Regions from separate parts of the Homo sapiens genome. Here regions 2, 3, 4, 5, 6 and 7 are each linked to region 1. The links are contacts of gene promoters, found by promoter capture Hi-C in blood cells and fetal thymus (Javierre and others, 2016). All regions are on one chromosome and are shown on one strand. Each heading gives the region's core, a stretch centred on a gene start or on the middle of the fragment in contact. The rest is flanking DNA. Distances are from core to core; before and after follow the strand shown.

The links. Contacts are between HindIII fragments. The CHiCAGO score rates a contact against its expected background, and 5 or more counts as called.
Region 2: a fragment that was not itself captured here is called in contact with the fragment with the promoter of MTFR2 in region 1 in 1 of 17 cell types (monocytes); the score reaches 5.1 in monocytes.
Region 3: a fragment that was not itself captured here is called in contact with the fragment with the promoter of MTFR2 in region 1 in 11 of 17 cell types (erythroblasts, fetal thymus, M0 macrophages and 8 more); the score reaches 8.8 in erythroblasts.
Region 4: a contact is called between a fragment that was not itself captured here and the fragment with the promoter of MTFR2 in region 1, in 4 of 17 cell types (fetal thymus, naive CD8 T cells, total CD4 T cells and 1 more). The highest score is 7.9, in fetal thymus.
Region 5: a fragment that was not itself captured here is called in contact with the fragment with the promoter of MTFR2 in region 1 in 2 of 17 cell types (endothelial precursors and fetal thymus); the score reaches 6.1 in endothelial precursors.
Region 6: a fragment that was not itself captured here is called in contact with the fragment with the promoter of MTFR2 in region 1 in 1 of 17 cell types (naive B cells); the score reaches 5.6 in naive B cells.
Region 7: a contact is called between a fragment that was not itself captured here and the fragment with the promoter of MTFR2 in region 1, in 2 of 17 cell types (naive B cells and total B cells). The highest score is 5.2, in naive B cells.

What each region holds. Positions count from the first base shown.
Region 1 is chr6:136,248,488-136,251,807 of GRCh38, reverse strand. It overlaps MTFR2 (mitochondrial fission regulator 2), which reads left to right and starts at 1,497. Exons shown (of 8, transcript NM_001099286.3): 1 at 1,497-1,832; 2 at 2,655-2,771. The coding sequence starts at 2,709. RefSeq lists enhancers at 1,028-1,177, 1,828-2,047. The HindIII fragment of the contact is 2,013 bases long and covers 1-1,876 here.
Region 2 is chr6:135,435,499-135,438,818 of GRCh38, reverse strand. AHI1 (Abelson helper integration site 1) reads left to right here. Exons shown (of 29, transcript NM_001134831.2): 15 at 321-444. Among named protein-coding and RNA genes, the nearest start is that of AHI1, 61 kb to the left of the region's middle. RefSeq lists a silencer at 2,192-2,392. The HindIII fragment of the contact is 5,381 bases long and covers 1-3,320 here.
Region 3 is chr6:135,452,728-135,456,047 of GRCh38, reverse strand. AHI1 (Abelson helper integration site 1) reads left to right here. Exons shown (of 29, transcript NM_001134831.2): 10 at 122-314; 11 at 2,612-2,707. Among named protein-coding and RNA genes, the nearest start is that of AHI1, 43 kb to the left of the region's middle. The HindIII fragment of the contact is 1,503 bases long and covers 810-2,312 here.
Region 4 is chr6:135,487,502-135,490,821 of GRCh38, reverse strand. It overlaps AHI1 (Abelson helper integration site 1), which reads left to right. Exons shown (of 29, transcript NM_001134831.2): 5 at 75-199. Among named protein-coding and RNA genes, the nearest start is that of AHI1, 8.6 kb to the left of the region's middle. The HindIII fragment of the contact is 4,311 bases long and covers 1-3,320 here.
Region 5 is chr6:135,518,546-135,521,865 of GRCh38, reverse strand. All of the region lies in intron 2 of AHI1-DT (AHI1 divergent transcript), which reads right to left. Among named protein-coding and RNA genes, the nearest start is that of AHI1-DT, 22 kb to the right of the region's middle. The HindIII fragment of the contact is 4,527 bases long and covers 1-3,320 here.
Region 6 is chr6:135,653,129-135,656,448 of GRCh38, reverse strand. All of the region lies in intron 3 of AHI1-DT (AHI1 divergent transcript), which reads right to left. Among named protein-coding and RNA genes, the nearest start is that of LINC02524, 20 kb to the right of the region's middle. The HindIII fragment of the contact is 1,187 bases long and covers 1,101-2,287 here.
Region 7 is chr6:135,670,880-135,674,199 of GRCh38, reverse strand. AHI1-DT (AHI1 divergent transcript) reads right to left here. Exons shown (of 6, transcript NR_152842.1): 4 at 1,771-1,906. Among named protein-coding and RNA genes, the nearest start is that of LINC02524, 38 kb to the right of the region's middle. The HindIII fragment of the contact is 4,785 bases long and covers 1-3,320 here.

The sequences.
Region 1 (3,320 bases), core at 248-2,747:
TATCTCTGAAGAATTTAGAAGAAAGTTGTCAGCAAAGCATTTATGGATGTAGTATTTGACCTGGGTCCTCCTTGCTACTTAAATCAGTTGGAATATTAACCTATGTTAATAGTGCAGCTGGAAGAGTAGTGGTTCCGTTCTCATTCTGGAGGGATGTTTTCATTCTGGCCCTGTCTGTTTGCTGTTTGATAAGAGAGTGGGAAAGGGAGGGGGTTATAAAGTCGTGATTTATTCACAAGGGCAAAGGGAAGGACAAGGAACTTGAGAAAATTACTCCATCTAGGGTTTCTGATCCATCATCATCCTTGTTCTGCGCTCACTCAGCCGTATCCAGCTCTACTGGGCATATCACTATTATTGCTATCAATTGTTTTGCTAGTTGCTTAGTCCCAAATCATTATCATCTTTTCTGTCATTCCACATTTAGGTATTTTATTCAACAAATAGACTGAATGCCTATTATATACCAGACACTCTTCTAAAGCACTGGGGAAAGATAGAGCATGGATCAAAACAACTTCCTGTTCTCCTGGAGTCTACAATTTTGTTTGGTGGTAGTGGAAGCGTAACTAAATATATATGATAAGTGCTATAGAGAAAAGCAAATTAGGGTTAGAATGGAACGAGATGCCCCGCTGGCCTGTAAGCTCCAGGAGGACGAGGACCTGCCCTCTCATTAAGGTATTTTCCGTGCTTAGAATGGTGTCTGCTACGTAGTAGATATCTATTATTGGTTGAATGAATAAGTGATGTTGACCATAGATAAATTAGTTCAAAACTTAGATTTTCAAATTATGTCAGTAGCAGGCACACATCTTAAATTGTTATATCACTCCAGTGCACGTCTTGCTGAAATTCAGAAGAGGAAGCTATTTCGTATGAAGCCAATAACCTCAAATCAGAAATGAAAACTGGGATATCACCTGTCATATCACTTGCCATCCTCGGCTAAGCCAGGAGAGTGTCCGGCCCAATATTCGGTAGCCTGGATACGTAGGTGTATTTAGTGAACGAAAGAATGAATCCTAGCCACTGCAAAGCTGCAAAACCCTCGGGGGTAGTGCTTGGCTTCTGCCAGTTCCACAAGTATTTTAATATTAGCTGAACAAATGAAATGACCAAAAAATAAATCGCGATTTTGTGTCAGATGAACTTGGGAAGGCGGATGCGCTTAGGGTCCGGCTGTAGCGAGTAAGACACTCCCTGCGAAGAGTTCTGTGGGGTACGAACTCCGGACTGCGAGTCCAGCTCACGAGTTTGTACCTAAAACCTTGCCCTGCGGGAGCGACGCTGTCCTAACGCGACCTGCCCTGCCCGTCAGCTCCTATTGGCTGACTCTCGGAAGACCCGCCTCTTGAGAAGGAAAAGCAGTCGCTTCCCGAATTGCCTGACATCATGCAATGACCAATCAGAAGCAGCGATCTTCAGTTTTGCCCAATGAGGCTGGTTACGGGTCCTGGCCCGCGGAGTTTGATTTCGTCCTGGGATGCGGAAGTAGCAGTCCTGTCATGCGGAAGTAGCAGTCCGGTCCTAGGGACTAGCAGGTGGGTTGGTTGGGCGCAGGAGGACGGGGGCGCGCTTCCCATAACATTACCCTGGCTGAGCGTGAGGCTCCAGGGCTGGGCACCGGGTTGACCTCTTATTCCTCGCTGAGGGCATCGTTACCGCCTGTGGCTGCAAGCCGAGGCGCGCGGGTGGAAACTGGGTCGAGGTCTGGGTAGACGTCTGAGCGATCTGCACAAGGAGTGGCGCAGTCTGGAATTTGATTGAGGATTCCTAACGCCCTCCGCTTGATGTTCTGGTGATTCCCGGGGGCTCGGCTTCGGAGGAAGGTGAGCAAGGCTACCACGCTGTGTTTGGAGAGCACCAGGAAGCTTGTGACCAAAGCGAGGGACGCGATCCGGCTCTGGTCACGGCCTGTTACTAGATGGGTGACCAAGTCACGTCCCGTATCTGGAATTCATGCTTCTCATTTTAAAAGAGTGAGGAGGGATGGGCATTCCACATGGCTGGGGAGGCCTCACAATCATTGCTGAAGGCAAATGAGTAGCAAAGTCACATTTTACATGGTGGCAGGCAAGAGGGCTTGTGCAGGGGAACTCCTGTTGATAAAACCATCACATCTCATGAGACTTATTCACTACCACGAGCATAGTATGGGGGAAGCTGCCCCCATGATTCAGTTATCTTCACCTGGCCCCACCCTTGACACGTGAGGATATGTGTGTGAGAAGAGCTACTGTTTATTTTTTTAAAAACTGAGTCGTCCCTTGCCTGCTTTCAAGGGTTGGCTAAACTCACCCATCTGCTAAGAGTCTCAGCCCAAAGCTTTCAGGAAAGAGCGAGCTTCGCTGTGGCATGTAACTTGAAGCCTTGCCTACTAAGTAGATGTCCAGTTTGTTGATTGGTCTCTATTAACTAGGCTCAAACATCCTACGAGGTTTTAATGTAATCTAACCAATTAATTGAAATTTCCTTTACAACCCTCTCTTTCCCCCAGACTTCCCCTTCCTTTCTTTTTCTCTGACTTAAAAGAATGCTGGCTAGGAGAAATTAGTTGACTGTGTCGTGTATCAAGAGGACTTTTCCAGGTTATGTAGTACAATTTGGCATTTATTTGTCAAGAGTAACATTTTCTAAAATTTTCCCCAAAGGCACCAAGAAACTGATAATGTTCCTTTGAATTGGCTTCTGTATTTGCTTCATCAATGTCTCTCATACTGAATATCTTAAGAGAGATGCTGGAATATTTTGGCGTTCCTGTAGAACAGGTAAATGTCGTTTTGGATTGGAATGGATCTGTTGTATTTGTTCTTGGGTTTCATTTTGAAAATGACTTATATGTAATCATTTGATTTAAGGCAAAGTTGTTGCTTCTTTTTAGTTGGAACAAAGGTGAGTTTGTAATAGTATAGCTTTGATGATTTGAGTTAGAAGAGGGATAAGATTATTGAGAACATATTTACCTGATAGGACAAATGCCAACAGAAGATACAAAGGAAGCAAAATATAGACATGAGCTTCACAGAATTACATTTATTGCACAGATACATTAAAACTTCTATTCAAGGTAATTTATAAACAAGTTCAATATTTAAAGCTCAATAAATCCAGAATAAATCTAATGGAAAGAGGATGATTTAGGCCTGAGAATTATAAGCTGTATTAGTCTGTTCTCATGCTGCTAATAAAGACATACCGGAGACTGGGTAATTTATAAAGGAAAGAGGTTTAATTGACTCACAGTTCCACATGGCTGGGGAGGCCTCACAATCATTGCTGAAGGCAAATGAGTAGCAAAGTCACATTTTACATGGTGG
Region 2 (3,320 bases), core at 274-2,773, 810 kb after region 1:
AGTGAATTGCAATGTAAATGTTATTATTCAACTGATATAAATTTATTATTAAAGATTCTTAGGGGATTTCTTTAAAGAGATGAAAATAATTGATAATTGTAGCAAAATTATAACTGAAAATTTTGCATGTGAATTTTTGTGTAAAGCAAAAGAAAAACTATTCTTAAGTAAATTTTGAAATTTTCTCTGTGCTGCAAATGTCTTTGGTTATAATTTTGTTATAGACTGCTTATGTCTAAATAATATTAAATTATATATTTGTATATTATTGGATTAAGGATCTTCTGTCTGGAAACCTAATTTCTAAATATTTTCATTAGTATATGAAATTCCTTCTGGACGTTTCATGAGAGAATTGTGTGGCCACCTCAATATCATTTATGATCTTTCCTGGTCAAAAGATGATCACTACATCCTTACTTCATCATCTGATGGCACTGCCAGGTTAGTATCCTTGAGAAGTACTTATGTGCATGCTGTTTGCTGTCAAGGAAAGCAAAGAGAATATAAACTGATGTAACTACTCTTATGCTCCAGTCGTATTTTCCCAAGAAGGGACTGTCATAAATATGCATCATGCAGACTGATTCCATAAATTATAGTAACACTTTTTAAAGACATTTTTCTTAAATGTCTTTTATTTATGTAGCATATAATATTTCTAGTCCTCACCATCTTTAAATGATCATTATGTAAACTGATTAATGCTTTGAGATGGGGTTAGGGGTTATTAAACACTTGAGATTTTTTCCTAGAGCATAAGCTCTTGGTGGCAGGGATACTGTCTTCACTATTGGCTGGATTTGCAGAGGGTAGAATCCAGTGGTGCTCAGTATATCACAGTAGAGGAAACAAATATGTACCTTATATTTTAACAGTTTTATAGATTGGTTAAACATTTACATTTTTCAGAATGTCAATCTTAAAAATAATTTATCCCTTTTCAATTTAATAAGTATCACAATAAAACATTTTAAAAGCTAACTTTAAAAGTTTCATTTATACTTTTTTTAGTTGCTTGTTCTACCTTGAATGTGTTCTAAAAATACTGTTAGTTTTCAGGGTGCTTTTAGATACATCACTTAATTTGATTCTTACAGCTATTAGGTAAGACATTATTCTCTCCACACACTACGAAACTGACATGTAAACAGTTGAGATCCATGCTGAATTCATTGTCATTTACTTCTGCCTTCTACTCTCTTAACACTTCGTGTTACTTTTAGTGTTCAGACCACTTCTTCTACTGATCTTGCCAACCTCCTTTTCTGTATAAAATATCTAATCAAGATGTTACCATTATTGGTTAGTTTTTATTTAAATGAAAAAGATGAGAATTAGTAACAATTGACTTCCTTCTTGGTCATGCTGGGAACCTACTATTACTCCTTTTTGACAATATCCTCAAGAAACTATCTGATCTGTTCTTTTAGCACAGCCATTCTGTCCAATGCCAGGCCATACTAGAGAAAAATATGTAACTTTGCTGAGGGGTGACTTTGGATTTGTAAGTCTTAATGTCACCTAAGCTGTCATCTCTGCTGAGGAATCCTTTTACTTTACTCAGCTTCCTTTTCTTTTTCCTCTGGCAGCAGATCCAAACTTACCATGAACATTCTCTACAGTAAATCACAGTCTTCCCACTTCATTAGATGACTATCTTCAATTTAGATGAAATTTAGTCAGACATGATCTTCGTATATTTCCCTCTGATTTCCCTCCTAATATCCATAGATATGTCCATTTTTAATCTCTGTCCATCTCTTTTAACAAAGAGGCACGTGACTGACGTTTTAAAGGCTATTTGACCTGTACTTTTCATCTCAGTCCCTGAAAATTTGTATTACATCTACTAGTCTGATTAATATCTTTCTCTCTATTGATTGTGTCCTCTCATCTTAGAAATATGCTCAAATGGGCCGGGCGCAGTGGCTTATGCCTGTAATCCCAGCACTTTGGGAAGCCGAGGTGGGCAGATCACTGGAGGTCAGGAGTTCGAGATCAGCCTGGCCAACATGGCGAAACCCTGTCTCTATTAAAAATACAAAAATAAGCCGGGTGTGGTGGTCTGCATCTGTAGTCCCAGCTACTTCAGAGGCTGAGGCAAGAGAATCACTTGAACTGGGAGGTGGAGGTTGCAGTGAGCCGAGATTGCGCCATTGCACTCCAGCCTGGGTGACAGATTGAGACTCTGCCTCAAAAAGAAAAAAGAAATATGCTCAAATTGCCTTATCTTAAAAACATCATTTTCAGTTCTTCCTGCCTTCTAGACTAGCCCATTATTTTTCTTTTTCTACACCATCAGGAGTATTCTACACATACTGTCTTTACTTCAGCCCAGTTATTCTGGCTTTCTTTCCCACCATGCTACATAAACTTCTTTCTTCAGAGGTTGGCAGTTTCTTGCTATTTTTAAATCCATTTGGACAGTTTAACTCCTGCTCTGCTTGCCTTCACTGTAGTAATTGATTATTGACCAGTCTTGAAATATTTTGAATTCATAGTTTTCATTGACAACCTCTTCTCTTCTCTTTTTATTACTCTGACCAGTTCTATCCATTGTCTTTCTCTGATTTATTTTCCTCTGCCGATCGTCTATATGTTTTATCCCCAGGATCCTTTAGCTGATCATCTCCTGGTTTTATATGCTTATCCTAGTTTCTCTTACCTTTCCCAGCTTTGACTCTTGCTGATATGCTAATGACTTCTAGCGCACACCTTTTTTATGAATTTGACTTCCTATTACACGTTTCCATTTGAATGGCCCATTGCCACCTCAAATCCAAAACCAAACTTACCCACCTCCTTAAATTTTGTTTTCCTCTTTTAATTCTCTTACATATATTTTAATGGCATCCTTATCCACCATCTCCCAAGCTGAAAACTCAGAGTGGTGTTCATCTCTTCTTTCTTTCCCATCATTTCTTTCACATCTAACTAGCACTAAAGTCTGCCAATTCTCCCTCCTAAAAGGCTCACAGTTTTGTCACGTCCTCTCTATTGCGTTTGCTTTAATTCAAGCCCTATTACTCTTTGCTTAAATTGTTGCTATTGACCTCAGTGTTCAGTCTCTAAGTCCTCTGTCTCTGCTGTGCTAAAATTATCTTTCCATAACTATCTTTCATAATGCCTTAATTTTTTAAAAGACTTTACCCATTGCCCATTGAAAAATTTTCCAGTTCCTTAGCATGGCCTAACAGGCATGTTCCTCATTGACCCAACATTCTTTTCTCATGCGCTTCCCTTGTACCCTTTGCTTTACCCACGTAATCTTTTGAAACACCCTAGCATCTTATCTTCTTTGGCATCTTCCTGCCCTT
Region 3 (3,320 bases), core at 312-2,811, 800 kb after region 1:
TTCCTTTTGTATTATTATGACTATTCATTATTTCTGGTTGCCTCACCTTGTACACTATATATTTTTTTCTCACCTCAAAATTATGAAAATTGTGTTAATGGAAGTATCTTTTTTTGTACAGTGGACGGCCTGTTTCATCTTACTATGAAAAAGAGAATGTGGATTATATTCTTCCTATTATGACCCAGCCATATGATTTTAAACAGTTAAAATCAAGACTTCCAGAGTGGGAAGAACAAATTGTATTTAATGAAAATTTTCCCTATTTGCTTCGAGGCTCTGATGAGAGTCCTAAAGTCATCCTGTTCTTTGAGGTATGAATTGAATGGACCAATTCAAATTAAACGATAGTTAATATTTAATAGCACAAATGTAAGCTATTATTTTTAGTAGTCCAGTAAGGCAAAAAAAAAAGTTGTGTGAGAATTTAATCTCTAGGATTTAGTTTTCCAATGCTGTGGAATCAAGTGAGACGCCCTTTTATAAACAGTGATAGCATATTTGCTGAGTGTTTACTATTTAACCATTTGGCCTACTTTGTATAATTTAATAATTACAACAGCTCTGTGACTGTTAACTGTAGTGAAGTGATGAATCCACTCGATATGAATGCATTTCTCCATTTTAAACCCATTTCACAAAGCATAAACTCATTTAACCATGTCAGGCACCCTAAGAATATGTGTACCACCTGGATAAATAAAGATAAATGTACACAGATCAGTTAATGCAGTTTAATATGTAACCAAAAATGATGTAGAACTTATATGTGAAGGGTTAGTGGCGGGTCAGTGGAGTCAGGGAAAGCTTTATGGAATACATGGCTTTTGAGCTGACTAGTTGTTATTATATAATTTTCTTACTGAAAATGATAACAAGGTTTGGAATAAAAGTGATTTCCCCAAAGTTACTCGAATTTTAAGTTAAAAAAAATGCGTTTGCAGATAGTTTGAACCTAGAATACCACATTTCTTTACTCTATCATGTGTTCTGTCTCCATAAGCAAAGGACAATAGAGAAAGCCCCCTTCCAGTGTAAGCTAGATGGAGAAGTTTAGCATGGGAACAGCAGGGGACTTGGCATAACCAGTGCCGAAGATTCATTTTGTAGAATTACTTGTTTTTATGATCCTTGACTTTCAGGTTGTCTATTTGTATTTATGATACAAATATTCCAATATTTACATTTGTGATTATGTTGTGTGTGATTTACATAAAGCTGTTATTGTTGAAAAATTGATATAATTTGTATCTTAAGGAATTTTTTGTCTTCAAACTTTGTCATTTGTTACAATTTTCTTCTGTATTCATTTTAGTATTAAGAGATGAAGAAGGATAGATTGTTGTATTATAAACGCTTTTGGTTGCTTCTTAAGTTTTAATGTAATATGTTATTGCCTATGCAACTGCTTTTTGATCTCAGTTTTTTAAGTGTTGAGGACAACTTGATAATGTCTCACAGTCTTTAAAACCATTATTTTACTCTTAGGTATTTATCTTAAGGAAAAAAATGACAAGTCCGTGAAGATGTGTGTGCAAGGATATTTATTTCAGCACTGTTTATAATAGCAAAAATTTTAGGGAGATAAAATAACCTACATTTAGATCAGTAAGAGATTTGGTTAAATAAGTTATAATTTTTGTTAAATTTATGGTATTTGTGACAGAATAGTAGGCAGTCATTAACATTACGGTATTCATGTGTATGTATTGACATGAAGAGATATTCACTACATACTATATGAAAATAATTTGTGAAATAGCATTATTAGATTTGTAGTTCCACACATATGTTTAGGAATGCACAGAAAAAGATTTGGCCTGCAAACTAGATGTTAATGGTGACCATCTATGGGTCTGGATTACAAGTTGTTTTTACTTTGGATCTATATATTTTTTATATTATGTTTTCACTGAGCATGTATTATATCTGTAAAAAAGATTTAGGTATCCAAAAAGCACAGATGATTGGAGTCTGTATCATTTCTTAAGCAGTCTTCTTTCTATAAAAATCTCATTTTCGCAGCTGAGCTTTTAATAAGCACCAGTAAGTTTGAAGTGATAGCCTTTGATAAATATCTAGAATACGATCTCTGTGGCAGGTTGGTTGCAAATCCATGAGCTTTAATGTCCAGACAGGATAGAGGAATGGAAGAAATCCTCTTGAGAAGCCTAATTATAACATACATCCAAAGAGAAAAACCCCAACTTCAGGAAGGTGATCCAAGACAAAGACCCAGAAATAGGGTTGTGAGTTTTTTAAACAAACAATCCTTTAAAGTCTGCTGTGATACATAAAAAACAATGAAAGCTTAAGAATTCTATGCCTATTATATTTGTACCTAGGTTATATTTGAGGTGATTAACACTTTGCTTTGGATTTGAAATAAATCATAGTATTTATTAATGAAAGATAAAATAGTCAGAAAATGGACCCTCCCTAACTGAATGAGTTAACTTTAAGGTGAATGAAATGAGATAAAAATGTTTTTATTCCCTGTAAAGGTTAATGTTTTTAAGCACTATACAAATGATTTTTTAAAGTTTTAATAATGTACCATTAGAAAATATTAAATTTTAGGTAGCTTAGTCTTCTGTGAATTTATTTGCAGATTCTTGATTTCTTAAGCGTGGATGAAATTAAGAATAATTCTGAGGTTCAAAACCAAGAATGTGGCTTTCGGAAAATTGCCTGGGCATTTCTTAAGGTATGTTTTTCATCCATTTTAAACACTTTAAAACTAGTCTTCAAATTTAGTTGGCTGCTTTCTCCCAAATCAGTTTGGTCTCATATAAGGAATTAGAATCTAAGGTAATGTTGTAGGGATGAAGAGTTACTAATTCAAGCTCAGGTTATGCTCATTCAGATTCTTAAATATTTATTGATGGCCCAGTATGTGCCAGTTACACTATTTGGTTCTGAGGATGTAGCATTAAAAAAGACACAAACAGCCATGCCATTATTTATTCAGTTCAAAAAATATTAAGACTTTTCTATGTGCCAGCTACTGTTGTCAGTGGACAAAGATGACAAATTCCTTGAACTCCTGGACTTCATATTCCAGCAACACAAACATAAAACAATTGATTTCACAATTTATCATTTAATTATAAATTTTTATAAATATCGTAAAGAGGTATAGGATGGATGATGAACTGTGGGGTCAGGGAAAACATTCCTGAGGAAGAGACACATTGCCACCGGTGGGGAAGAAATGGTCTATGGTAGAGGGTACAATATATGCAAAAACCCTGATATTTGAAGGAGCAGGGTTAATTCAGAAAATCAAAAGAAGGCCACCAAGATTGGAGGACAGAGAC
Region 4 (3,320 bases), core at 306-2,805, 760 kb after region 1:
TTAACATCCTAGTAGTGTAGGTTGTGTGTTATGATAGAGTCATTTACAAAATCACATGGCTGTATCTTTTGTAGCTGAGAGTGAAGCAAAAGTAAAAACCAAAGTTCGCTTTGAAGAATTGCTTAAGACCCACAGTGATCTAATGCGTGAAAAGAAAAAACTGAAGAAAAAACTTGTCAGGTCTGAAGAAAACATCTCAGTAAGTAAATGATCATTGGGTAATAGTGATTTACATATGCGCATAAAATGCAGATATGGCTGCATTTTATGTTAAAATTCTAAGGAATTTTGAAAATTAAAAACAGTAACACTATGTCATGGTCAATAACATGTGGTAAAAATAAAGTTTATATTAGAATCAACATCACTGTGAGAATATTGACTTCATTCTTGAGTGCTGTCCTACAGGAAGAACACACACACAGTGGGGAAAATGACCAGAGATAGTGGGGAAACTCAAAACTAGCCATGATAACATTTTTGAAGAAAATATTTTTAACCCAGAATTGTGAAGAACTTAGGAAGTAGTATCTTAACTTCAGATATTGAATAGCTTGTGCTTATTTAAACTATTTCTGTGTGATTCTACCCAACAGAACCAGGAGAAATCAATGGCCGTATGGTAATAATTATCCTTTTATGTTTGAGGCACACTTTCAAATGATAGAATCTTTGGCAGCACACTTGAAGGAATTAAAAATACAGTGCTCAAAGACTAAGCAAATCAGCAACTAACTACAACCTGATCCCCTTGGAATCATAAAGAGTCTGTATTGGCATCCACAGTTAATGCTCTATGCCCTCTTTATACCTATCTCCCTACTTGAGTTGCACTTTTTACTACTTTGACCATTATCTCTTCTGTCCTCACAGAAAAAAATAAACAGGCTCTTGTGTAAATGGTACATAGTTTTTTTTTTTTTTTTGGCAGGAGTTTTATAATGAGTTATAATCCTACATTTTGCTTGTAGTAAGATTTACCCCATTTTTTCTTAAGACCTGTTCATTTTAGTATTCTGTCTGGCAGATGTCAATGTAACAATATAAATTCTGAAGTGAGGCAAAAACAAGTAGTAAAATTGACCAAAATCCAGCTGCACATATGTGAGGGTTCATAGTGTATACACTGGTGTACGACTGCACAAAAATTTCGAACTACTGACAGAATGGACAGATTAGCACTCCCATAGTGATTGCTGCTCTGAAATAGCATGTGCTTTTTCTGGTGGTACTAGTGCACAATATGGTAGGGAATAGTGACATGGAGGATGAAACATTGCTTATTGATATATGCGCTCCCCTCAGATGGAGTGGTTTATGTTGGGCAAAAGCAAAAAGAACCCTGGAAACAGTTGTCTGCAGAGATGTTTTATGCTCAGAGAAGAACCTCATATTGTCTCTTAGTATTAAAGAACTGGGAGTTGTGAGCCATGAACAAAATGCAATTTAGACCAAGGTTTAAATTAAATGGATAATCAGAATAGGCAGAGGCTATGTCCATTTACCTAAGGTCCAGTTTAAATGTTGAGGGGCACATAAGTGTGAGGTGACTAAGCATAATTTATCCAGCCTCTCTTTGCAAACACCAGGACTGAATAGGCTTCTTTTCTTTCAGAAATAAGTACACTAGGAACAAATATTTGGGAAGATATTTCGCAGCTCAAAAGAACAGGAATATTTCTAAAGGACTTAGAGGAGAACAAAATATTTTTGACATGATTAACTTGAGGAAGTAAAAGAGGAATAGCTGCTTTCATTTGCTAGATGCCTTAATGCTTTCTATCTTTAGGCACTCTTCTAAACACTTTATATATATTTAGTCGTTTAATACAAACGACGAAATTACAGGGTTTTATTTCTGTACAGGAGAAAACTACATCAGAAGTTAAGTAACTTGCTGAAAGTTACATAGTAAATGGTAGAACCAGGATTCAAACACTGAGTGGAAGTGCAGAATCCACTGCCTTAACCACAACCCAATATTATCTATTTTAATGAAATTTGAAAAGATAGGACTTCTTCTTGAAAGAAGAACAGGGAGTCCTATGTACAGAACAGGCTGAGATGAGAAATGGAGCAGTCTGAAATAAAATTAAGCGAGGAAAAAAGTCAAAATAGGGATTCATAATAATGGCAGGTTCATCTTATATTCCAGTTATATATAAGGCACAATAATAAGAGTTTTACAAATATTATTTCTAAATCTCATGTTAATCATGCAAGATAGATATTGGGATTCTTTTTTTGCACATGAGAAATTTTATAAACAGACAAACAGACATGTTAGGTGATTTCCTTAGGTCATTTAGTCTAAAATAGGATAAGTGGGATTTAAGACCACAGTCTCTGCAATTTTAAAGTTCATGTTCTTCAGTTGCTTCCTTAAAACTATATCTCAGGCCTAAAATGATGGAATTGACACTACGGAAAAATCTAATCAGTGAAGTGGGAGACAAATTCGAGGTGGGAAGAAATGACCAAAACTAAAATGAAAGAAATAAATGATGAGGACATAGAAAGATATTTGACCCACAAATAAGTATCCCGGGACAGTACTAGTGGAGCAGAAACAATAATGAGCATGATGAAGAAACCTTGCTGAGATTTCTGAAGAGATGAGTCATCCTGCATTCCAGGCAAAATTTATGAGATGAGAACTATATCTAGAAAATTCTTTTGTTTGTATCTTAAGAGTCAAATATTGCAGACACCTAAACACAAAAACATATAGTACATTTGAGACTTCTCTGTAAAAACACTAAATCCAAAAGACAATGGAGAAATATTTAGAGCACTAAGAGAAAAATTGTAGCCTGAGGAATCTGGTCACCTAAGTTGTCAGTCATTTGTGATGGTAGTTGTAAACATATGTGCATTATTAGAGAAATATCAGTGTTCCCTCCCTGGAAAAAAAAAAAGATTTAAGATTTATTAAAGATGTAGTACCATTTCTAGATATGAATCAAAGTTAAGAATTTAAGAATAGAACATCTTAAGATCTTAGAGGAAGGGATGAAGAGAAGTTGGTTAAGGAGTACAAAAATATAGTTAGAAGGAATAAGTTCTAGTAGTCAGTATTACAGTAGGGAAATTACAGTTAATAATTTATTGTATATTTCAAAATAGCCAGAAGAGAAGATTTATGTTCCCAACATAAAAGATAAATGCTTGGAGTAATGGGTATCTCAGATGCTCTGATTTGATTATTATACACTGTATATGGTGTCAGAATATCACATGTACCCCCAAAATATGTACAACTATTATGTATCAGTTAAAAATTTTTTTGATGGGAAATTTATGATCCAAAAATACCATTG
Region 5 (3,320 bases), core at 469-2,968, 730 kb after region 1:
CACATAAATTATCCACTTTTCTCACAGATGGGTTCACATTAAAATGAATGGTAATAGGAGGAATAAAAAAATTCAATCCAAGGCAAATCTTTTATCTGTTAATATTTTCAACCCCTTTTATTTAAAATGTTAATTCTAATTTGTGAAAAAATTTGTATTAAATGAAGTTGAAACATGTGGCATAGAAGGCATCAGGTGACGTCATCAAGCAGATGTGTGCTACATCTATGAAAAGCAGTCAGATCTATCCAGCAGCAGCTGACTGGACTCTATGGCATTTCTTCCAAGTGCCCTGTTTCCTGTGGTCTTGTCTGCCTTGCTGATTTTTATTATTTGAGCCCAGTGTCTTTTCTATTTGGCCCTTGGCAGTGCTTCTTCAATAGCATAGTAATTGCCCCTGAATCCACCACACTGACACTCTCCCCTTACATTATATTTAAGGGCACCACAAGACCTCCAGGATTGACTGCTACACATCTTGGGCCTGATATTGGTATAGCCCGTGCAGTACATGATACTAGGATCCATCAATGGCCATGGAAAATACACACAACAAGATTGGGCATGCAATCTAAGACTGGATTGGGGTGATGGTTATGTAATGTATAAACGTACTAAAAATCATTGAACTATACACTTAGAATTGGTGACTCTTGTAATATGTAAGTTTTACCTTAGTAAAGATTAAAATAAAAAGATTCATCAGGCAGTAGAAGTAGGTAGGACAAGTTTAGACTGACATTGATATACCCCTAAGTATAAATCAATACAGGGGGTTCTATCATCATGACAGGAGCTGACCACACAGAATCAATTTGTTGGGAAGAAAGCACGAAGCCTGTTACATCAGTTCCCAGTCTTGGGAAGAGTAGAAACTATTTAACCCAATAAAAGATAATGTTTTTGTTAGTGTTGGTGATTCATCATAGTTGACACTAAGATTCCAAGACCGGGTCCCAGCTGCTGAGAGAGCACTGCAACAAGGAATTTACATTTGTCAATTTGGGTTTTAAAATGTAAACCAACCCTATCTAATTTAAGGGCACAAAAAATAATTTATTGGAAAGGTATGGAGTCTTTCACAGAACTAAATAAAAAGCTAAACAATCAAGCATTAAGTAGAATACTACAGGAAACAGGACGACCCCAATAATCTGGTATTCAGGACTAATGAATAGTCTCTTTAAAGAGCTGCCAGCACACGCTAACCATCACTAACCATCTTAAACAGTTAATTACCATGTTCTGGGCTAGGTTCTATATTTAAGAAATCCCATTTCTTAAACAGTTAAGATGGTTAGTGATGGTTACTGTGATGGCAGCTCCCTAAAGATGGTTAACCATCACTAACATCTTAACTGTTGAAGACCATTTCAGATTTAGTTTGCAGAGAAATAATGGATTGTTCTTGCTTAGGCCAAGTGTCAATGCCTTGGGTAGGGCTCTTTCACTGACATCCCCTGTAAGACCACATGCAATGGAAGAGGGTGAGGGGATTATTTTTCATATTAAAATGAACGTATTTTTACCAAACTAGAGGAAAGGGATGCTGGGCAGAAAACACACACACACACACACACACACACACACACACACACACGTCCACTATGCTATTATCAATGCAGGCAATTTGAAGTTCTTTTTCTAGTTAGTGTGTCCATTAAAGGCAGGAACTTGGCAACTAAGCTAAGATTGGGAGAATTTCTGTAGTTTTACAGAAAAGAGGCTAGAAAGAACACAACAGGGGCTCAATTCTATAAGAGGTCTGAGATTACTAAAATAAATAAATAAATAAATTACAAGAGATTGGAGATAAAACAGAAGTTTAGCTTTATCAACAGGGTAAATAAGGCTTAAAGGAGGGAGATTCAGATGCGAGAAACACAAGTGGGAAAAAAGGAGTAGCTATAACTCATAGAACAAAGCCCAGAACATGATAATTATTCTGGGACAGCAAGGGCACCCTAGGAATATTGAACCAGTGGTCAGCCCAAGAGTACCTTCTTCTGTTCTCTCTTGTTATTCTCTGCCATCCCACCCAAGTCTCACAGTTGGTCTAGGTCAGTTTAATCAAATCTTAATTTTGTTAGAATTAGCTCAGTACTTAGATATCAGCATTTATTAGCAAACCCAGTTGTGGTTTCTCCCCAAAATATTTTGAATTTTTCCAAGAAATCCCATTTCTTAAAATTTTGAGAACTGCTGATTAAAATAAAAACCTAGTGGGAGGGAGGCTTTGTGTTTCTATGGCTTTGATGTTTTCTGAGTGGTATAGAAAGAATGAAAGTCAGTTAAGGTATACAGTAATTAGTTAGTGCCTACTCTGTGCAGAGTGCTGTGACAAATACTGAAAATACAAAGATGGACAGTGCTATGCTTTGAATGTTTTTGTTCCCTCCAAAACTCACATTAAAACCTAATCCCTAATGCAACAGTGTTGGGAGGTGGAGCCTAATGGAAGGTGTTTGGGTCATGGGGACTCTGCCTTCATGAATGAATTAATGCCACTATAAAAAAGACTTTGGAGAATGGGTTCACTCTCTTCTGCTCTTCTGGCATGGATACAGAGTTTAAGGTGCCATCTTGGAAATGAAGACCAGGTCCTTACCAGACACCAAACCTGCTGTCACCTTGACCTTGGACTTTCCAGCCTCCAGAACCATGAGAAATAAATTTCTGTTTGTTATAAATTATCCAGTCTCAGATATTCTGTTACAACAGCACAAAACAACTAAGACAGATACCCATCAGCAGTGTCCTTAAGGTGCTTATCATAAAAAAGGGATATAAAATACCAGCATTCATTGTATATATAAATGTATTGTGGCATGTGTGTTCAAAGGCCATTAGAGCATAGCATAAGTATTAATACCTAGTCTACCCTGGGGAATCGAGAATTGAATCTCCTTCAAAGGAGAAATGGTATTTACAAGGAGACTTGAAGGAGAAATAGGATTTTGGCAAGTGGACAAGGAAATATGCATGATTATGAGAGCATATGGCATAACTCTCCTTTAAATATGAGAGAAACTTACGTCTTGGAGGAGCTTCATAAAGTACAGTGTTTCTGGGGAGGAAATGGAAGAGGAATGATGAGGCTGGAAGGCTGACTGTAGATCACATGTATCTGGTCATTGAGGCAAGTCATTAAAGAATTCTGAGCAGGAAAGTAACATGATAAAGAGCCTTGGAAAGCCATGAGAAAGATAAAGAAGGGTGAGACCTTCTGTTTCCAGGGACTTCTGCATCATCCAGGTAAGGCATGATGAGTGGCTGTGGAGAGAATGGAATGGATATCTAGTTGATAAAATGTACAGCAA
Region 6 (3,320 bases), core at 445-2,944, 600 kb after region 1:
TTAAATGTAAGACCTGAAGCTGTGAAACTACTAGAAAAAACACTGGGGAAAGGCTTCAGGACATTGGTCTGGGCAAGCATTTCTTGGGTAAGACCTCAAAAGCACAGGCAACAGAAGCAAAAATAGACAAACGGGATTATACCAAACTAAAAATTTTCTGCACGGAGAAGGAAACAATCAACAGAATAAAGAGACAATCTATAGAATGGGAGAAAATATTATCAAACTATATGTCTGATATGGGGTTGATATCTAAAATATTTAAGGAACTCAACTCAGTAGCAAGAAAACAAATGACCTGATCAAAAAGTGGGCAAAGGACCTGGATGAACATTTCTCAAAAGAAGACATACAAATGGCCAACAGGTATAATAAAAAACGATCAACATCACTAATCATAAGGAAAATGCCTATCAAAACCACAATAAGATATTATCTCACCCCAGTTAAAATGGCTATTATTCATATGAAAAAGACAAATAATAACAAACGCAAGTGGGATGCAAAGAAAAGGGAACTCTTACACTGTTGATAAGAATGCAAATTAGTACAGCCATTATAAAAAACAGTGTGATGTTTCCTCAAAAAACTCCAAATAGAAATACCATATGATCAAGCAACCCCACTACTGGGTATGTGTCCAAAGGAAATGAAATCAGTATGTCAAAGAAATATTTGCACTCTCATGTTTATTGGAGCACTATTCACAATAGCCAAGATATAAAATCATCCTAACTGTCTATCAAAGGATGAATGGATAAAGAAAATGTGGTATATATACACAATTGAATAATATTTAGGCATAAAAATAATAAAATCTTGTCATTTGAGGCAGCATGAATGAGCATGATGGAACTCATGCTGAATGAAATAAAGCAGGCACAGAAAGACAAACATCACATTTTCACTTTACATGTGGGGGCTAAAAATTTTTTTAAGCCTTTCAGGTTTAAAGATTACATTTTCAACCTTAATTACAAAATCCTGTATACACAAGAAAGTTTTTCCCTATTAGTCAATATATAATGTTTTATACAATCTCACACAGCTTCAGCTTATTTTAAAGAGAAAGCCAGTTATTTCTTATAAGAAGCAAAGCTTTATATGAATAAGTCAGCTCTAAATATGTGAATTAATAAAGATAGATTGCTAAGGCATATATTGCTCACTTACTGCTTTTGGTTTCACCAAAACAGCATATTATGCATTTTCCAAAACCCACAGAATGTACAACACTTAGAGTTAACCCTAATGTAAACTATAGAACAAAGCCAACTATGAAACTGTTTTCCCATTTCATTTGTAACCTAGTTGAATAATGTCAGTACTCCAACTTCACTCAATATTTTGTTGTCTATTTCAGGTTATTTGCCTCTCCACAGAAACTTTGGAATCTGTTTGTTGATACCTGCAAAATAACTTGTCAGGATTTTAATTGGAATTTCATTGAATCTGTAGATCAATGTGGGAGGAAATGACATCTTAACAATATTGACTCTTCCTTGCATGGACATGAAATATCTCTTAATTTATCTCTTTTTTTTTTTTTTTTGATGGAGTCTCGCTCTGTCACCCAGGCTGGAGTGCAATGGTGCGATCTCGACTCACTGCAACCTCCACCTCCCGGGTTCAAGCTATTCTCGTGTCTCAGCCTCCCGAGTAGCTTGGATTACAGGTGCACACCACCATGCCCAGCTAATTTTTGTATTTTCAGTAGAGACGGGGTTTCGCCATGTTGGTCATGTTGGCCTTGAACTCCTGACATCATGTGATGCACCTGCCTCAGCCTCCCAAAGTGCTGGGATTACAGATGTGAGACATCACACCTGGCCTTCTCTCCATTTATTTAGTTCCTTGATTTTTTTTTCCATCAGAGTTATGTAGTTTTTTTTCATATAGATCTTGTACATATTTTGTTGGATGTGTACTTAACTATTTCATTTTGGGGATGCACTAATCTGAAAGGATTTTTGTCTTTAATTTCAAATTCCACTTTTTCATTTCTGGCATATGGAAAAGACATTAAATTTTGTACATTAACCTTGTATCCTGCAATCTTGCTATAATCACATATCAGTTCCAGGAATTGTTTTGTTGATTTCTTCAGATTTTTTACCTCGACAATCATATTATCCATGAACAAAGACTGTTTTATTTATTTCTTCTCGATCAATATATCTTTTATTTCCTTTTCATGTCTTATTGTGTTAGCTAGGATTTCCAGTAAAATGTAAGAAGTGGTGAGAAGGAACATCCTTGTCTTGTTCCTGATCTGAGTAGAAAAGCTTTTAGTTTCTTGCCATTAAGTCTTATGTTAGTTGTAGGGGTTTTGTAGATGTTCTTTATCAGGATGAGGGAGTTCCCCTCTAAAATTCTAGCTGAGTTTTTATTACAAATAGGTGTTGTATTTTGACAAATGCTTTTTCTGCATCTCTTGATATAACCATGTCATTTTTCTTCCTTAGTCTGTAGATGTGATGGATTGCAGTAATTGATTTTCAAATTTGAGCCAACCTTGCATACCTGGGATAAATCCCACTTAGTCATGGAATATAATTATTTTTATACATTGCTTGATTCAGTCTGCTAATATTTTGTTGAGGACTTTTGTGTCTATATTCATAAGAAATATTGATCTTTTCTCATAATGTTTTTGTCTGATTTTGACATTATGGTGAAGCTGGCCTCATAGAATGAGTTAGTAAATATTCCATATGCCTCTATATTTTAGAAAAGACTGTAGAGAATTGATATAATTTGTTCCTTAAGTATTTGGTAGAATTTACTAGTGAACTGATCAGGGTCTCATGGTTTCTGTTTTGGAAGGTTATTAATTATTAATTCCATTCCTTTAATAGATCTAGGCCTATCTGGATTGTCTATTTCTTCTTGTGTGAGTTTTATCAGATTTTATTTTTCAAGAAATTCATCTATTTCCCCTAGGTTATCAAATTTGTGGGCACAGAATTATTCATAGTATTCCTTTATTATCCTTCCAATGTCCATGGGCTCTGAAGTGAAATCTCCTCCTTCCAAAAGTAGTAATTTGTGCCCTTCTTTTTCCTAGCCTGGCTAGAAGCTTATCAGTTTTGTTATCTTTTCAAAGACCCAGCTTTTGGTTTCAAAAATTTTCCCTATTGATTTCCTATTTCAATTTCTTTAATTTCTACTCTAATATTTATTGTTTCTTGTGCTTACTTTGGATTAATTTGCCCTTTCTCTAGTTTTCTATGGTAAAAGCTTGCATGATTGATTTTAGATCTTTCTGCTTTCCTAATATATGCATTCAATACTACAGTAGTTTCCCCTTATCCACAGGC
Region 7 (3,320 bases), core at 486-2,985, 580 kb after region 1:
AAAAATACAACGATCCAAGCAGGAAATGATGAAAGCCTCAGCCTAAGGCTTTTTAACATTGGAGATGGAAAGGAAACTTTTTGTTTTTGTGGTGCAGAATTTTTTCTCCAATGAAATCTTATGTGAAACATTACAATATAAAACCAGTAACCGCAGAGCTGATGGAGGGAGAGGTGGAAGACGTGAGTCACTCTGCTCTGCACCAGCTCCTGGCATCCTGCAGCAGCCCCTGAGACCCCCCTAAGAAACACAGTTTGACAACCCCTGGACCAAAGAGATATATTTAAGATGTAGAATCAATGCTTCCACCCATTTTATTTAATAAACTCTTGTGGTGTCTAATAATCTGTAGTGTCAAGCTGTTCTTCGCTATCTAAAGTAAATCTCTGCCAAGAGTTCATAAGAAGGCTTGTCTTATTTCTTTGGATGTCAAACAAATATTGCACTCGATAAATCTCTCAGTGTGTCTCTAGCCTCTGCAAGCATACATCAAAACCCAGTTAATTATAGACTTGTGGAAGCTGACCTTCTGACCCTCCATTTCTTGAATCCATCTGGGTGCGATGACTCTGGATCCAGACTGCACGAGCAATTCAACTTTTTAAACTCTCACCTAATCTTATTATACATTCTCTCCTTTGGGAGACTCATTCACCTACATGTTTTCAACCTCTGCCTATAACTGGGTGATGATGTCCAAATATCAATAGCTAGGCCTGACTCTATTTTGCACTCCTGACTTGCAGTTCCTAGTGGACATGTTTTTGGGGTTTTTGTTGTTGCTGTTGTTGTGGTTTTGTTTTGGTTTGTTTTGTTTTCGAGACAGAGCCTCGCTCTGTCGCCCAGGCTGGAGTGCAGCGGCATGATCTCAGCTCACTGCAACCTCCGCCTCCTGGGTTCAAGTGATTCTCCTGCCTCAGCCTCCCAAGTAGCTGGGACTACATGCATATGCCACCACGCCTGGCTAATTTTTTAATTTTAATACAGACGGGGTTTTACTGTGTTAGCCAGGATAGTCTAGATCTCCTGACCTCATGATCCGCCTGCCTTGGCCTCCTAAAGTGCTGGGATTACAGGCATGAAGCCACCGCGACCGGCCGTGGACATGTTTAATTAGGCTTCGCAGATAGCAGTGCTGGTCAAGATGAGCCTTATCTCTACCCTACACCTACTCTCTGCCAGTTTTGCTCACTGAGTATGCTGCCACCAGTGAGTACCCAGCAATCACCCTATGCCACTCCTCTCTCACCCCCACCAAATTGCCTCAGTCTCTGTGGCCTGATGTTTCTGCCATCTTAAAACCACTCAAAGCTGATGGTCTCCTCTCCTGCCTCCTGTGGCTTCCATCTAGCTACCTGAAATTACCATGGCAGAGACTGCAGTGCTCAGCAAGCACCCATCTGCTTCCCCCCCACCCCGTCTTCCAGCCTCCTGTGGTTAGGCAAAGCTACGGAATTGGCTGTGACTACAAAAAGAAATGGCATGTGTTACTTCCATTGTGAAGCATAAAGGAGCCACTGCAAACCCTTGCAGTTGTCTCTCCCCTGATGTGGTGACTAAAAAGGTCGTGTGTTGGAGATAGTGCAGTCAAAAGATGGCAGAGTCTGGTCCATGAGTGACACTGTGGAACAGACCCACCCCACCTCCCGCTGTCTTCTGTAGGGCATCCAGAAAGAGTGAGAGATACCCTCCTGTTGTGCTAAGCCACTGAAATGTAAGCATTGTTTGTTACTGCATCATAACCTAGCTTATGCTGACTAACATACTTACTGAGTTGTCTCCTCTTCTTCAAGACAGCCTTGCTTCAGTACGCTACACCACCTCAGACACCACAGTCTCTGCCATGGTAATGGAAGCCGCAGGAGGCAGGAGAGGAGACCGTCAACTTTGAGTGGTTTTAAGATGGCTGAAACGACATTTTATCATGTCACAAATACTTCATCACATGTCTTGCACAAAACTCTTCAGTAGCCCCTCATGTTAGGCAAACCATAAACCTGGAAGTCTCTTGCAGGTCTATGAAGGGCTTGTGATGGTCTGCCACAACTTGCCTTACAGCCTCACCTCCCAGTGGCCCTCAGAGCATCCCCGGCACTCTCTCCCCAGGCCCAGCTGTCTGCACATCCTGTAGGGAGCCTGTTTACTCACTTCTAGGTCCCAAAGCAGGCTGTGGCCTGTCTGTAACATTCTCTCCATCTTCACTCTCCTCTGTGGGCAAACTCCTGTCCCTCACACAGGACTGCAAGTCTCATCTCAGGTACATTTTATTTTACTATTTTATTTTATTGTGGTAAAAACACTTAACATGAGACTTACTGCTTAACAAATTTTAAACAGACAATACAGTATTGTTGACTCTAGGTACAATGTTGTACAGCAAATCTCTAGAGCTCATTCATCTTGCTTGACTGGAGCCTTATGCCTGTTGATTCATAACTCTCTATTCCCCCCTCCTGCTATTCCCTGGCAAACACCATTTCATTCTTTGATTCTATGAATCTGACTATTTTGGATACTTCATATAAGTGGAATAATGCAGTATTGGTCTTTCTGTGACTGGCTTATTTCACTTAGCTTGATGTCCTCCAGGTTCATCATGTCATTGCATATTATAGAATGTCCTTCCTTTTTAAGGCTGATAATATTTCAATGTATATATCGCATATTCTGTATCTATTCATCTGTCAATGGACATTTAGGTTATTTCTGCATCTTGACTATTGCGAATAGTGCTGCTGATATCTCTTTAAGATCCTGGTTTCAACTCTTTTGATAAATATCCAGAAGTGGAATAGCTGAATCATATATATGGAAGTTCTATTTTTAATTTTTTGAGGAATCTTCATAGTATTTTCTGTAGCAGCTTCACTATTTTGCATTTCCACCAACAGTGTGCCAGCGTTCCTATTTCTCCACATCCTCATCAGTACATTTTGTCCTTTTTTTTTTTTTGATGATATCCATCTGGACAGGTGTGAAGTAAAATCTCATGGTGGTTTTTATTTGCATTTTCCAAATGATTTGTAACATTGAGCATTTTTTCTTATATTTGTTGGCCATTTGTATCTTCTTTGGAGAAATGTCTATTCAAAACCTTAGCTCATTTTTAAATCAGGTCATGTGGTTTTTTTGCTATTGAATTATAGAAGTTCCTTATATATTTTGGAGATTAGTCCTTTATCAGATAGATGGTTCATGGATATTTCTTTCATTTCATCAATTGCCTTTTCACTCCGTTGATTGTTTCCTTTGCTGCACAGGAGCTTTTTAGTTTGATGTAGTCTCATGTTGTTTTTGTTTTTGTTGATAGTGTTTTTCGT